4 separate regions of the Homo sapiens genome follow, and all the other regions are linked to region 1. Evidence: promoter capture Hi-C in 16 types of primary human blood cells and fetal thymus (Javierre and others, 2016). All regions are on one chromosome and are shown on one strand. The core of a region is centred on a gene start or on the middle of the fragment in contact, and the rest is flanking DNA. Distances in the headings are between cores, read along the strand shown. Region 1 holds the start of TP53BP2 (tumor protein p53 binding protein 2). Region 2 holds the start of LBR (lamin B receptor). Region 3 overlaps MIA3 (MIA SH3 domain ER export factor 3). Region 4 overlaps MIA3 (MIA SH3 domain ER export factor 3).

Evidence for each region. The method cuts DNA at HindIII sites, captures the fragments that hold promoters and counts their contacts. A CHiCAGO score of 5 or more calls a contact.
Region 2: a contact is called between a fragment that was not itself captured here and the fragment with the promoter of TP53BP2 in region 1, in 1 of 17 cell types (fetal thymus). The highest score is 7.1, in fetal thymus.
Region 3: a fragment that was not itself captured here is called in contact with the fragment with the promoter of TP53BP2 in region 1 in 5 of 17 cell types (fetal thymus, naive CD4 T cells, total CD4 T cells and 2 more); the score reaches 11.2 in fetal thymus.
Region 4: a fragment that was not itself captured here is called in contact with the fragment with the promoter of TP53BP2 in region 1 in 1 of 17 cell types (fetal thymus); the score reaches 7.8 in fetal thymus.

The regions. Positions count from the first base shown.
Region 1 is chr1:223,844,695-223,848,140 of GRCh38, reverse strand. It overlaps TP53BP2 (tumor protein p53 binding protein 2), which reads left to right and starts at 2,194. Exons shown (of 18, transcript NM_001031685.3): 1 at 2,194-2,487. The coding sequence starts at 2,461. RefSeq lists a silencer at 2,057-2,366. The HindIII fragment of the contact is 2,144 bases long and covers 1,211-3,354 here.
Region 2 is chr1:225,426,124-225,429,409 of GRCh38, reverse strand. LBR (lamin B receptor) reads left to right here and starts at 1,372. Exons shown (of 14, transcript NM_002296.4): 1 at 1,372-1,456. RefSeq lists a silencer at 956-1,785 and enhancers at 1,618-2,289, 2,290-2,962. The HindIII fragment of the contact is 2,832 bases long and covers 503-3,286 here.
Region 3 is chr1:222,644,569-222,647,853 of GRCh38, reverse strand. It overlaps MIA3 (MIA SH3 domain ER export factor 3), which reads right to left. Exons shown (of 28, transcript NM_198551.4): 7 at 2,169-2,300. Among named protein-coding and RNA genes, the nearest start is that of MIA3, 28 kb to the right of the region's middle. RefSeq lists enhancers at 3,118-3,197, 2,798-3,285, 3,268-3,285. The HindIII fragment of the contact is 1,853 bases long and covers 497-2,349 here.
Region 4 is chr1:222,619,688-222,622,738 of GRCh38, reverse strand. MIA3 (MIA SH3 domain ER export factor 3) reads right to left here. Exons shown (of 28, transcript NM_198551.4): 2 at 1,447-1,580. Among named protein-coding and RNA genes, the nearest start is that of MIA3, 3.1 kb to the right of the region's middle. The HindIII fragment of the contact is 873 bases long and covers 1,076-1,948 here.

The sequences.
Region 1 (3,446 bases), core at 945-3,444:
CCATCTTTTGCTTGGCTTATCACAAGAGTTTCTTACTGTTCTCTGTTGACTTTCAGTTTTCCACAGCAGCTCTTAAAATATGTCAGCTGACATCACTCTTCTGTTCAAAACCTTTCCATAACTCCCCATTTCACTCAGAGCAAAGGTAAAGTCCTTAGAATAGCCTACAAGGCCCTCCTTGTCTGGCCCTTCATATCACTCCATCTCATCTCCTACTACTCTCCCCTCATCGTCTGCTCCAGCTATCTTAGCCTCCTTGATGGTCCCAGAATTTGCCAGGCAGGCTCCCATATCAGGCCTTAGCGTTGGCTGTTCCCTCTGCCTGGAAATCTTCCTTCATATTTGTGGAGTTCACACCCTCATTTCCTTCAAGACTGTGCTCACACACCGCCTTTTCAGTGAGGCTTACCTTGACCACCATATTTAAAGTTGCACCTGTACACCTTATCCCCTTCTCTTACCTTATTCTATTTTTTTCACAATAACTACACTTGTCTTTTGAACTTTTTGTTCATTGATGTATCCCTAGGACTTAGAAGAATATCTACCAAGTGGCAGGTATTTAATAAATATTTACTGAATGAGGGATGAATTTATTTTGCTTAACTCAGTATAACCCTCTTAAGAAAACAAGACTATAAACCAGATTTTTTGAGAACGTTAAATTCTTTTTTTTTTTTTCAGATGGAGTTTCACTCTCGTTGCCCAGGCTGAAGTGCAGTGGGGTGATCTCTGCTCATTGCAACCTCCGCTTCCCAGGTTCAAGAGATTCTCCTGCCTCAGCCTCCCGAGTAGCTGGCATTACAGGCATGCGCCACCATGCCCGGCTAATTTTTATATTTTTAGTAGAGACAAGGGTTTCACCACGTGGCCAGGCTGGTCTCGAACTCCTGACCTCAGGTGATCTGCCCGCCTCGGCCTCCCAAAGTGCTGGGATTACAGGCGTGAGCCACTGCGCCCGGGCGAGAACGTTAAATTCTAGTTGAATTAACCGTAATTTAGTATTTCCAGATACAGTATCTGGGATGGTGCAATAGGGAGTTCGATGGAGATTCTGGTAAGGGATATGGTGGGCTAAGAAAGAATTGTCTGTTCTTGATACTAGATAAACCCAGGGGATTTACCCCACTTCAGGTTCTAGAATCATGTATAAAGGCAGAGAAAAGTGATTCTGAGTGAACTTGCACTGACAACTTACTAGAACAAAGCTTCCTGGAGTTAGGGTTCCCGCAGTATGTGTCTCTCTGGAAGGTGGAATAAAAGCCTGAACCCGCTCTGCTACTCTTTGGAAGGCAGCCCTGCCATTTCCCTAGGCCTTGGCCTCCCTCCCTGGAAAAGGATGGTATCCACCGGCTCCCCGTATCGGAGGCTGTTTGCAGGGTGTTCCCAGCACCCCCCAGGGAAGCTCCTCAGAATGCTGCCTGACACATTTTTACAAAATTTATTTTTATTGTGGTAAAACATACACAACATAAAAGTTATCCCTTTATCCAGTTTGCGGTGTACGTTTGTTAACCTTACAGCAAGTAACACATGAGTTTTAAATTAGAATTTGGACAACGGCAAATGAGATGAAAGGCGAACAATCCGAAAGCCGGATCACTGAGGAGCTCTGGGAACGCGCCGCGAGCTGAAGCCACACGGGGAACTCCATTTTGTCGGGACAGGGTCGGTCCTGGCCGCCTCCAGGGAGTCGGGTAGTTTCCGCGGCGTGGCCCGGGCCTCCCCTGAAGTCCGTCCGCCTCTCTCCGCCTGGCCCAGCGGCGCGGCCGCCGGAGGACTCTGTCCACGCGCCCAACGTCGGGCGCCCTGTTCTGAAGGCAAAGGGTCCCCTGCCTCGCACGACTCGGAGCCGCCGAGGAGGTGACGGCGGCAGCCCTGGGGCGGCTCGGTGCCATTCACTACCATCCTGTTTTCCTGAGGCGCGGCCTTCCAATTGCCCCGGCTCCGCTAGGAGGCGCGCGCTCCAGCCGCTCCGCCGCGCGGCCCCGACCGCACTTCAGTCCGGGGCGAAGAAAGAAAAGGCGGCCGGCTCCCGCCGCTCCCCGTCTACCCAGCCGGGCCCGCGCAGGCGCGCGCAGCTCCCGTTCCCGCGGCCGCCCCTCCCCCAGGCCGCCGGGCGCGCCGCGGGCGGGGTCGGCGCGGGGGGCGGAGCCGGCACGGGCTCGGCTGGGGCCCGACCCGGGATTAGTTGGTTTCGGAGCGGAGGAGGGAGCCCCGACCGTCACGAGCGTCGAAGAGACAAAGCCGCGTCAGGGGGCCCGGCCGGGGCGGGGGAGCCCGGGGCTTGTTGGTGCCCCAGCCCGCGCGGAGGGCCCTTCGGACCCGCGCGCCGCCGCTGCCGCCGCCGCCGCCTCGCAACAGGTCCGGGCGGCCTCGCTCTCCGCTCCCCTCCCCCGCATCCGCGACCCTCCGGGGCACCTCAGCTCGGCCGGGGCCGCAGTCTGGCCACCCGCTTCCATGCGGTTCGGGTCCAAGATGATGCCGGTAAGTGGGCGAGCGGCCAGGGCGTCGGGCCCGGAAGTGTGCGGGGTCGCGTGCCGGGGGCTGGTCCGCGCCCTCGGGCGCGTCGGGGAAGGAGCCTGGGGGCCGCAGCCCGCGCGGAGGGGCCGGGGCTTTCCGAGCTTCGAGCGGGTTTCAGGAAGGGGAGGCTCCATCCTCTGGGCTCTGCGCCCACAGCCGTCGTGGGGGCGCGGCGAGACCCTAACCTCGAGGCGGGTTCCTCCAGCTGCTCCGGAGTCAGGCGAGCCGCCCGCGAGCCCAGCAGCCACTCAAACTTTTCGTCTTTCACTGGGTCTTGACTTTTTTGCAGTTCTTGAAGGTCAAGAATACGGGAACCGGGGACCTTGTTCTTTGCTGTGTCTTTTTACTTTTTACTGGAGTGAAACATACGTTACTGGAACGGGTACCTTTGCTTTGTTTTTAATTGAATTTCGATCTTGATATCCACAGTAGCAGCTAAGTCACCCTTACCTCTTTGTGGAAAGGGGTTTTGGTAAATGCAATCTCGGAAGTTTTAGATTGCAGGAAAGCGTACGTGCCTGGCTCCCTTCGTTTCCCACAGCTTTTAGCAAGACCTCCGGAGAGGATTAGTGCCTTCTTTAGGAGCTCCGCAGGCTTTTGACACGGCCACCAGGCCACAGATGAACAGCAGGTTTGAGACATTTCAGAAATGTCTCTGTCATTCAGCGATCGCGGAATGGAGGTTTGCGGTGTGTTGCGGTGGCTTCTGCAGACTTCAGTAGCGAGTTTCTTCGTGGAAGTTGTATTTGCACCTCTCCCACTGAAGTGGGGACATCTTGCAGGCATCCTATGCTTGTGGCTCCATTTGTTCAGACAAAGAAACAAAAAGCTTTTACTTTTATGAAGTCTGTGGAATGGAGTGATGACAAAGTTTGCAGTCATACATACAGAGTATAATATGCTGTTCCCTGGCCCCCTGCTTG
Region 2 (3,286 bases), core at 669-3,168, 1.6 Mb before region 1:
AATATTATCTTATGTCAAGGGTTAAGACAATTGAGACTTGGGGGTTTGTCAAAAATAAAAGATTTTCTGACTTTGGAGTGCGATGTGCATTTCTGTTGCACAGATCTCCACCAAGGGCAAATTCGATGGCAATGACAATTTGATGTCAGAACTTCTCAGGAAAGGCTCTGATGAACTCATTCACACTGCATGTGAATGACTGAGAAAACTCGATGTATTTTCACTTTTTTTTTTTTAAGAAGTAAACCTGGGTGTTTTGTAGTTCTATGAGAAAATGAAAGCTGAAGCTAGGCTATAGATGAAAAGTTCTATTCATTATTACAATTTAATAATGCTTCCAAAATAGCAATTCACTTAAATATACCTAGTTAGGGTGTTAAGAAATACTTTGATTAAAACCACACTGCAAAATAGGGAACTTCAATGGACTGCTTTAAACTCTCGACCTCAAAGGAAGGAAATCAACTAACCGATAATGAAAACTAGCAGAAAAAAAAAAGCTTAGGATCCGTAACAGATTCGGAGTCAACAATGACATGACTCAGCATTTTGGGGTTCAATTAAAACCAGGCTTGTAGGTTGCAGGTCAAGTTGTGTTTCGGTGTGTAACGCATAAAACTTCTTGTTCCACGCTCCGCGGTGTTGGGGATTTTCTACTGCATCTCGACAGCATCTCGGGTAACAACCGAGCCCCTCCTCGCAGCGTAAGTCGTAGGAGCCCTCGGCCATTCTTCCCCCTCCCTCCCGCCGCCGGTCCCAGCATCGGTCCGGGTTCGCTTCTACGCAGGTTCAGCGGCCGCGGACACAAAAGCGCCCCTGCTCGCCTTCGATGCCGCTGCTTGGTCCAGGGGCTTCTGTGGGATTTTAACACGCTAAGGAGGGCACTCATAGTGTTTTACCGAGAAACGCTTTCGAGCTCGGATCTTTGGTGATCACTTCAAGAATGTATTAGTTTTCTTTGTAGCTTAAAAAAAAATCTCGTTCGCCAAGCCACCTGGCACCCCAAACACTGCTGCGAGCGCTGGGAGGGAAAGGGCGGGAGCGCGCGGGCTCCGTGTGCTGCGAGGGCGCCTGGGCGGCTGAGATAAGGCGGTGGCAAACGTCGCGCTCCGGGCCGCCCCGCCAGACTCGGTTTCCCCCGCTCACCGGCCTCCCCGCCCCCAGGCAGGGTGGGGCGGGGCGGACGCGCCACGGCGCGCGACCAATCGACAGCGCCGGGGATGATTCAAAAGGTCGAGGAGCCAATGGGAGCCCCGGGCGGCCTCGCCGGTGGGGAGGGGAGGCGAGGGGAGGGGAGAAGCGCCGCGAGGCGGGGCCGGGGAGGCGCGCGCCCGGCTTGCGGGACTGCGGGGCGCGAGAGCGCGGCCGGGTAGCGTCGCGCGCGTGGATCTGCCGCCGGGTTGCTGTGCGACTATTCTCCGGGAGCCGTCCGTGTCACCGCCGGAACCTGGCGCAGGTGAGTGCTTCCACCCCCGCCCTGCTCCCAGCTCCCCGCGGCGCGTTCTTCGAGGGGCCGCTGGGGGAGGAAGCCCGAGGCCGGCGCAGCGGCCGGGCCGGGGACCCTGGGCGCGGGGCCTGGCGCGGCGGCCTTCCCCTCCTCTCCTCGCCTCCTCGTCTCCTCCCCTCCTCGCCTTTTCTGGCCCAGTCGGGTGGTCGGGGCGGCGGCGGGCGAGGCTGGAGCTCGCCCGAGCCGGGCCCGCTGCGGAAATGGAGCTGGGGGTTTTAAACTGCGGACGTTTCCCTCCATGTTGGCGGCGCGGCGCGGCTGTGGAGCGGCGGCGGCAGGGAGGGTTCGTGGGCGCCTTTGTCCTGCCCCACCGCAGCCTGGCTCCCGGCCCCTCCGAGCGCCCGTCTGACAGATGAGCAGGCGGCCCCGCGGTCCTGCAGTAGGAGGCTGACAGGGCGCGGCGGCCTGGCGGGACGGGGAAGGGTCTGCGGCCGAGGTGGGCTTAGATTCGCGCTGCTTGTCACTGGCTTTGAGGGTCGTGGTCGTCGCGGTTTGGTGATTCTCCAGGCACACTGCATGGCTGCTCGCTCCTATGCGTTGAATTCCTTCGCCCGGACAGTCTCAAAAATCGGGTATTTAGGCGGGTGTGCGTGTTCCTGCTAAAGCACGGTCCTGCTTTTTCACCTTTTTGAGGGTTCAGAAAAATGTTCTAATGACAGCCAGCCTCGCACTGCCAGTAGCCTCAAGGGGCACTTAGTAAAGCACTTGCTTTCGGAGGGCTTTGTTGAAGGCGCTTTCCCAGAGTGATTACGGGGCCCGGTCGGGTGTTCACACGAGGGCGCGGTAGATACCGTGGTCCGCGCGTGGACACCTGCAGCGCGAGGCGCGGCGCCTGGGCAGTGCCAGGGTGAACAGGCCCCCGGGGACCTTGCACGTAAACACGTGTAGATCTGTAGTTACGCATTGTAGTAACTGGTGTGTGGGAGAAGATGGAGCTACGGAGAAGAGCAGAGGGATCCTAATTTAGATTAGGCAACAAGTCCAGTTTAAGTTTTGTTTCTCAGGCTGCCTGGGAAGAGGGAGAAGAACGAGCAGGAGGGGAATGATGAGCTGCCCAAGGATGTTTATGGGGAAGAAGGCGCTTCTGCCTTTACAGCCAGGAAGGTGGCCTTTCTGTTGCTTCATGAAGCAAAGGGCGCGGAGCAAGGCCCGGGGTTCCTGTTTGCATTTTGCCTAGTGGGGCTACCGGGGCTCAGGTGTGAAAAGGAAGCTGTCCAACGTCATTCGAGCGTCTTGCTCTATGCCACGTTTAGATGAATTTGGAGAAGTGAAGGAAAGATGGCTGGAGACCCCTGTAATGTTAATGAGCAGAGAATTGTTGTGTTCACAAACAGTAACATACCGGAGCTGGAATGTGTGAGGATTGCAGTGCCAGTTGACTCTGAAGTTAGCGGGCATCTGGCTTAATAGAGAAAAACCTGAGGGTCTCCGTGTTTTTCCTGTTTATGGCGAATGAGGACATTGGGTGCAGTGAACAAAATTTTTCTTTACAAACACACTTGCCTAAAACATCTCTTGTAAGAAAATCCTGTGTGTATCTTGACTCCTGTAGGTGAGTGCATAGTGAGTGACACGAACAAATGTGGGGCTTTTGTGTGCCATCCTGGCTATTTCACTCCTGTGGGGGAATATATTAGGATGTGATTGCACTGTATCCTCACGTTTGACAATTGTGTGTGGATCTTGTGTAAAGTGGGGGTGCACATCATGTTGTTGGCTTCATCTTTTGGAACATTTGTGTATAAGATAATGGTCTTCTAAGAAGAATGCCGGTTCATT
Region 3 (3,285 bases), core at 174-2,673, 1.2 Mb after region 1:
TTCAGAAAATTCCAACATGGAAAGAAATTACTATCTCTCTAATGTCATGGCCTTGCTAATTCCTCTGCTCCATTTCACCCAAACTAACAGGCAAGCAGAGACCAAGGTTCCAAAAGTCAAGTGCTGAGGCTGAGGAACAGCAGTTAGGACACAGAGCCTATATAACTTTCTGAAAAACGAAAAAGGCGTTAGAATTTTTTTATTAACAAATAGGAGAAACAAGAGTGGGAAATGTAAAATGTTTTCAACTTTTCCCCTTCCATTTACCCTTTGATTCTCCCTTTTTATCTGAAGAAAAGCACCAGGAGGTTAGAGAAGGCCTCACAGGAAAAAAGACCCTTCTTTTTAAGTAATTTTACAATCAATTGTGAGAGAAAATTTATTAATGATGATATATGTGATATAATTATGAAATCAGAAAAAGAGTACTCAGTTTTAGAAAGATTTGCATCCAATAATTTTGGCCATTTTAACTGTGAAGTTTCAATACAAAGCTTTTCATCTGCAAAGCTCATTTACACAAATAATCTTCTCCCAATTATGTTAAATAACTATGCAGCTGAATGCTATATAGTATAATCATAAGGATGTACAAGTATGAGTATACACACTTATACAAACATGTTTAAGTCTGAAAGGCAAATTCTGCACAGAAGATAAAAAAATTAACGGTGTGTCTTTACACATGATATAATTTGCATTTCGAAATAAAAAGATATTTTCTGAGTAAAATAGTACATGATGAAATCAGAAAATCTGGAAAATACACATTTTTTAAAAACTGAAAACTTACCTCATCTCCTAGATATAAGAATTTTTATCATTTTATTGTATTTCCTTGCAGCATTTATTTTCTGTGTGTATGTTTATGTAATATACAGTTTATCTATACCTTAAAGTCTTGGTTTCTACTTTTTTTCTACTTCATGTTAAATTGTGAGTATTTGTTGTGCTCCTATGTCTTTGAATTATATAAAGCAGCCTAATATCCCATTATATGAACATACAATAATTTAACAATTTTCCCACTGTGAATCACAGTAGGTTGTGTCAAAGTTTTCACTCTAATAAATACTGTTCTACTGAATGCTCTCATGTAAGATATTTAAAACTTTTTTTTGAGACAGAGTCTCACTTTGTCGCCTAGGCTGGAGTGCAGTGGCATGATCTGCTTCCCCAGTTCAAGCGATTCTCCTGCCTCAGCCTCCCAAGTAGCTGGGATTACAGGCTCCTGCCACCACCCCCGGCTAAGTTTTGTATTTTTAGTAGAGATGGGGTTTTGTCTTGTTGGTCAGGCTGGTCTCAAACTCCTGGCCTTATGTGATCCACCCGCCTCCGCCTCCCAAAGTGCTGGTATTACAGGTGTGAGCCACCACGCCCGGCCATGTAAGATATTTAATGCATGATTGGTTATTTCTTTCTTTCTTTTTTTTTTTTTTTGAGATGGAGTCTCACTCTGTCACCCAGGCTGGAGTGCAGTGGCACATCTCAGCTCACTGCAGCCTCCGCCTCCCAGGTTCAAGCGATTCTCTGCCTCAGCATCCCGAGTAGCTGGGATTACAGGCATGTGCCACAACACCTGGCTAATTTTCGTATTTTTAGAAGAGATGGGGTTTCATCATGTTGGCTAAGCTGGTCTCGAACTCCTGGCCTCAAGTGATCCGCCTGCCTCGGACTCTCAAAGTGCTGGGATTACAGGTGTGAGCCACTGTGCCGGCTGACTGGTTATTTCTTTAGGATCGATTACTAGACATGACATTAATACAATATAAAAGGATATAACCATTTTTAAGGCTTATCATACACATCATGAAACTATTTTTCAGGATGGCTCTAAGAATTCCTAGTTCTACTAACAGTGTACATATGACCTATCTAATTCTTTCTTTTCATCCTTTGTGAGTTGAAATACAGACCCACCTAATTCTTAAAATTTAGACTTTGATATGAGACATATAAACTGAAGTTTTCCCACTGAGATTATACATGTTGTCTTATTCACTTAAGAATTTACCAACACAAAAATTATACTAAATTATTTTACAAGGTTAGCTTGAATTAAAAGCATTAATTTCTGTTCATATTAGAAACTGAAAAAGAAACAAAAGGACTGTGATTATAAAACCATACTTGAATTTATGAGTTAAAGTATGCATTAATTTACTCACAACAAGGACAGTTCTCCATAAGAAAATGGCAAACGAAGCAATTCCCAAGAAGGCAGTGATAAATACAGGTTTCCATGGCAGTCCATAAAAATCAGGCCCAGGCTGAACATCATCAGGCAATGTAGCAACTAGCTGAATGTTAGAAATAATGTTAGAAATAATGAGAAACCTTAAAGAAGCTTACCATAAAGCAGTCACAAAGACTCATTCACAGAAATTCTAAACCAACTCTATCAGATACCTATCCCCTCAAAAATCTTCAGTAGCTCTCACTGCTTTAAGAAAAACAGGATACTGGGAGTCTCATACTTATTGTTTGGCCTGTGGTGTTTTGAAGTACTATGACTCTAAATGTCTTTAGGTTGGGCATATATTTCTAGTTTCAATAGGCCCTGATACAATATGTTATCTAAAACATGGCTGGAATCTCTCTGCATCATACTTTTGTCTTGAATAAATTGGTTTTTATTGCTTAAAAAACCACATAAGACAAAAAACCTTTTATATACAAGTAACTAACTTTTTATGGCTGCAAATAAAACCAATATGATGATAATGAATATCACAAATAACGTTTTATTCCTCTAAGATTTAAAATCTTAAATCGACTTACATAAACAAAGAACAAATGCTGACTAAGTTCGGATAGCTCCTGATAACTGATCTAGATAAACCGCTTTGAATTTAGTGCCTTAATTCTAAATGTTTCCTTGAAAACAGTGCATTAAACACCTGTCTGCTCTATGCTGTTTCCACAGCCCTTTACAAGTACACTATCACACTGGTCCCATCCCACAACAGAGCCGGGGGTTATGCAGAAAAGACCTGTAGGTTCTCTGTGTTTTGATCATGACTTCACACCAGAACATAAAGTGCTGTCACTTCGTAAGTACTCAATAAAAAAAAAAAAAAGAGTGACGAAACCTTCTCAAACACACTCCCACCTGCCTCCCTAAACAGCATAGAAACGTCTTGCTTTCCTCGGATCTGACACACTCCATTTCTCCTTTGCACAGACAATCAGTGCACCCACTCTGCTTAGAACTCATCCACCCGCCTGTGACAGCTTGGGTCCCTCCCCGGGAATCGGGACTGTCACCTCCAGCAGCTTGGCTAT
Region 4 (3,051 bases), core at 263-2,762, 1.2 Mb after region 1:
AAAAACTTAACTTTTCTATGAAAAAACGCAGCCTAGGTACATGGAAAAACATTTCCAAGAGTAAAGATTATCAACAAATCTCATTAGGTAGACTTGAAGGAAATAGAATAGATTTGTTTTGGTATGGAGCAAGTCACTTGGGATGCTCTCTAAATAGGAGAGCTGAACCTGACCAGTTGTTGTTTCCCAAGATTACTCCCTAGGAACCTGGAATGCCAACAAAATCAGTCTATTTTCCCCAAGGGGATTTCTCAAGCCTTATTTTCTCTTTGTTTGTTTGGTGTTTTACTGACAGTGAAAACTTTCATAGTCGGGATGGGTATTTCTCTAAGTTGGGACAATCCTAAAGATATCGAGGACCCTTACTACTTGAAGTAAAGACACAGTCCACATATCACGCTTTCTAAAAAGGAAAGGACAATAACTCATAAGACAGGCCTCTCAATCAGGTCACTCCCAGTGAATCTCCTCATTAAAAATACCAAAGCATGATGCAGTCATTGATTGCCAGGTCTGATAGCAGGGTACCCATAAAATCAGCTGGGAATCAATCCCCTGGGGTAACCTCCAGACACAAGTGTCTGAAAAGCAGGACAAGGATGACCCCAAGGCTGCAAACAAAAATACAAACAAGAGGCTGGTTGCGGTGGCTCACGCCTGTAATCCCAGCACTTTGGGAGGTCAAGGTGGGTGGATCACAAGGTCAGGAGATCGAGACCTAGCTAACACAGTGAAACCCCGTCTCTACTAAAAAAATACAAAAAATTAGCCGTGTGGTGGCAGGCACCTGCAGCCCCAGCTACTCGGGAGGCTGAGGCAGGAGAATGGCGTGAACCCGGGAGGCGGAGCTTGCAGTGAGCCGAGATCGCGCCACGGCACTCCAGCCTGGGCGACAGAGCAAGACTCCGCCTCAAAAAAAAAAAAACAAACAAACAAGAAAGCACACGAGAAACAACATTTTGCTTTTTTACAGACTTATAATAGCACAGATGATTAGGGAACTGTTCCCAAGACTGCCACTTTTTCATAAATAATAATATAAACAAAGAAATACACATAAAATCAACTTTAAGCTTACATGCCTGAAACACTCTCTCACATATAGTTTACAGGAGTAAGTCTAATTCCTATGAATACTTCCTTTTTAAAGCAATGAAGTATTTTTCAGCTCTTACCATTTCAACCTCTAATACGTATGCAGCATCCTAGAGGTTGACCCTGAGGGGAACTTGCCAGAATCAGTTCTATTTCAGAAGGCTCTGCTGAGCCCCTACTCTGTGCAGACCCAAGGCCTGCTGGGGACACAGGGCCATCTTTTTTCACAGTCAGGCAGAGAGGACAAGTTAACTCCATCAAAGGTCCCAAGAAAATGCAGTCATTTAACTCTACAGTGCTAAAGAAGCCAATAAAAATTAAGCAAATAAAGTATGTCGATATTTTACTTACACTTCCAGCCCAAACTTCAGGCCATCCTCTTGCCAGTTTATAGTAAACATATACAGGATCACCTTTTTTAAAATTCACAAAACGACAATCCGGGCCTGTGAAATCTTCAAGAGCCTCACCGCGGTACATTAACACTGTATATAAAGAGAGAGAAAAAAAATAGCCAGATATCAGGATTCAGTGTTCACAGTGCATATTGATTTATCAGGAAATATAAGAATCCCACTATAAACAACAACCAAGTTTTTCCAGTACTCTCTGGAATTTCTTTCATATGCTCAAAGTATCTCAAATCCTTTGAGCTTTACTGCTATAAATCATACCTTCTGCAAGCAGACAAGGGAAAGGAAAACCTTCTCTATTTTTCTCTATGGATAATACTGAGAAACAAAAAGCAATGTGCCAACTACCACACATGGCTTTTCTCACCCAAGTGAAACTCTCGATTCCCTCTCTAACCTTCTAGTCCTCAATCTTTTCTGTTTCATATTCATAAAAAGCTTCCTTTTGCAAATGGGTAAATTCAAGCCCAGATGATGATTAACTTAAGCATGGCTACATGAACGGGTAATAGGGAACTAGAGTACCCAGGAACCCCCAAGAGGTCAATTAACTTGAACTAACCACTAAAAGGGTCTATCTTCAAGTGACTGTAACCAGTACTATGTAGCAGTAAACACTGTCAATTTCATTTGCAGCCAAGTTGTTCCCTTAGTACAGTGTCTGGATAAATTAATGGGAAAAGATATCTATCACACCCTACTATAGATTCAATTACATCACAAGGCAATATTTTCTGAAAGTAAATAATGTTGACTGTATCCAAAATTAAGTTTCAAAACAAAGGAAAGAATACCCTTATGTATATTTTTCTATAAACAAAATCAAAAGTCGACATCTCATTTGGCTGGGACTAAGCAAAACTATGAGAATAGGTCAGTAATTCAATCACGCTTGATCTAGAAACTGGCTGAAGCAGTACTTTTATTTTTGTTGACCACATACACAGTTTCCCATGTAAGATGAAATGGACAATAAATACATCTAAATAGCAGAGACAAAGAAGGACGAATAGAAATAAGATTTTTTCCAAAAGCCAATTTGCAATAAAATACATTAAAAACGTGCCTTTAAATGGCTATACACGCATATAGATTTGGAAGGGGCTACTTGTTTTTTGAAGCTAAACTCTGATTACTTTCCAACATGTCAGCTTTGTAGCTCAGATATAATTGAGTGTGAGGCCAGGTTTAAGATGATGGACAATTTAAGGTTGGGAATAAGATCAGAATTGAAAATGGCAATGTTTCTTTTGCTCCCCCTTACAATAGATCATAGAGGATTTATAATAATATTTGAGATGCCAACAAAATGCACCCTGTGGAACAGCTATTTGAAAACCACACAAGGGCACCGTACATACTCACATTACTAAACACTTTCTACAACACAACACAGACCCATCTAGACCTTGCTCCTGTTGATGCCTATTGTATTTGGTTTCCTCTGAACACGTACCATTTCTCAAGTTATGTTACAACCGTGAGCTCTTCTAACATCATGCCTCAGTACTGAAGAAGCATCAGTGATGTGATGATTCTCCAG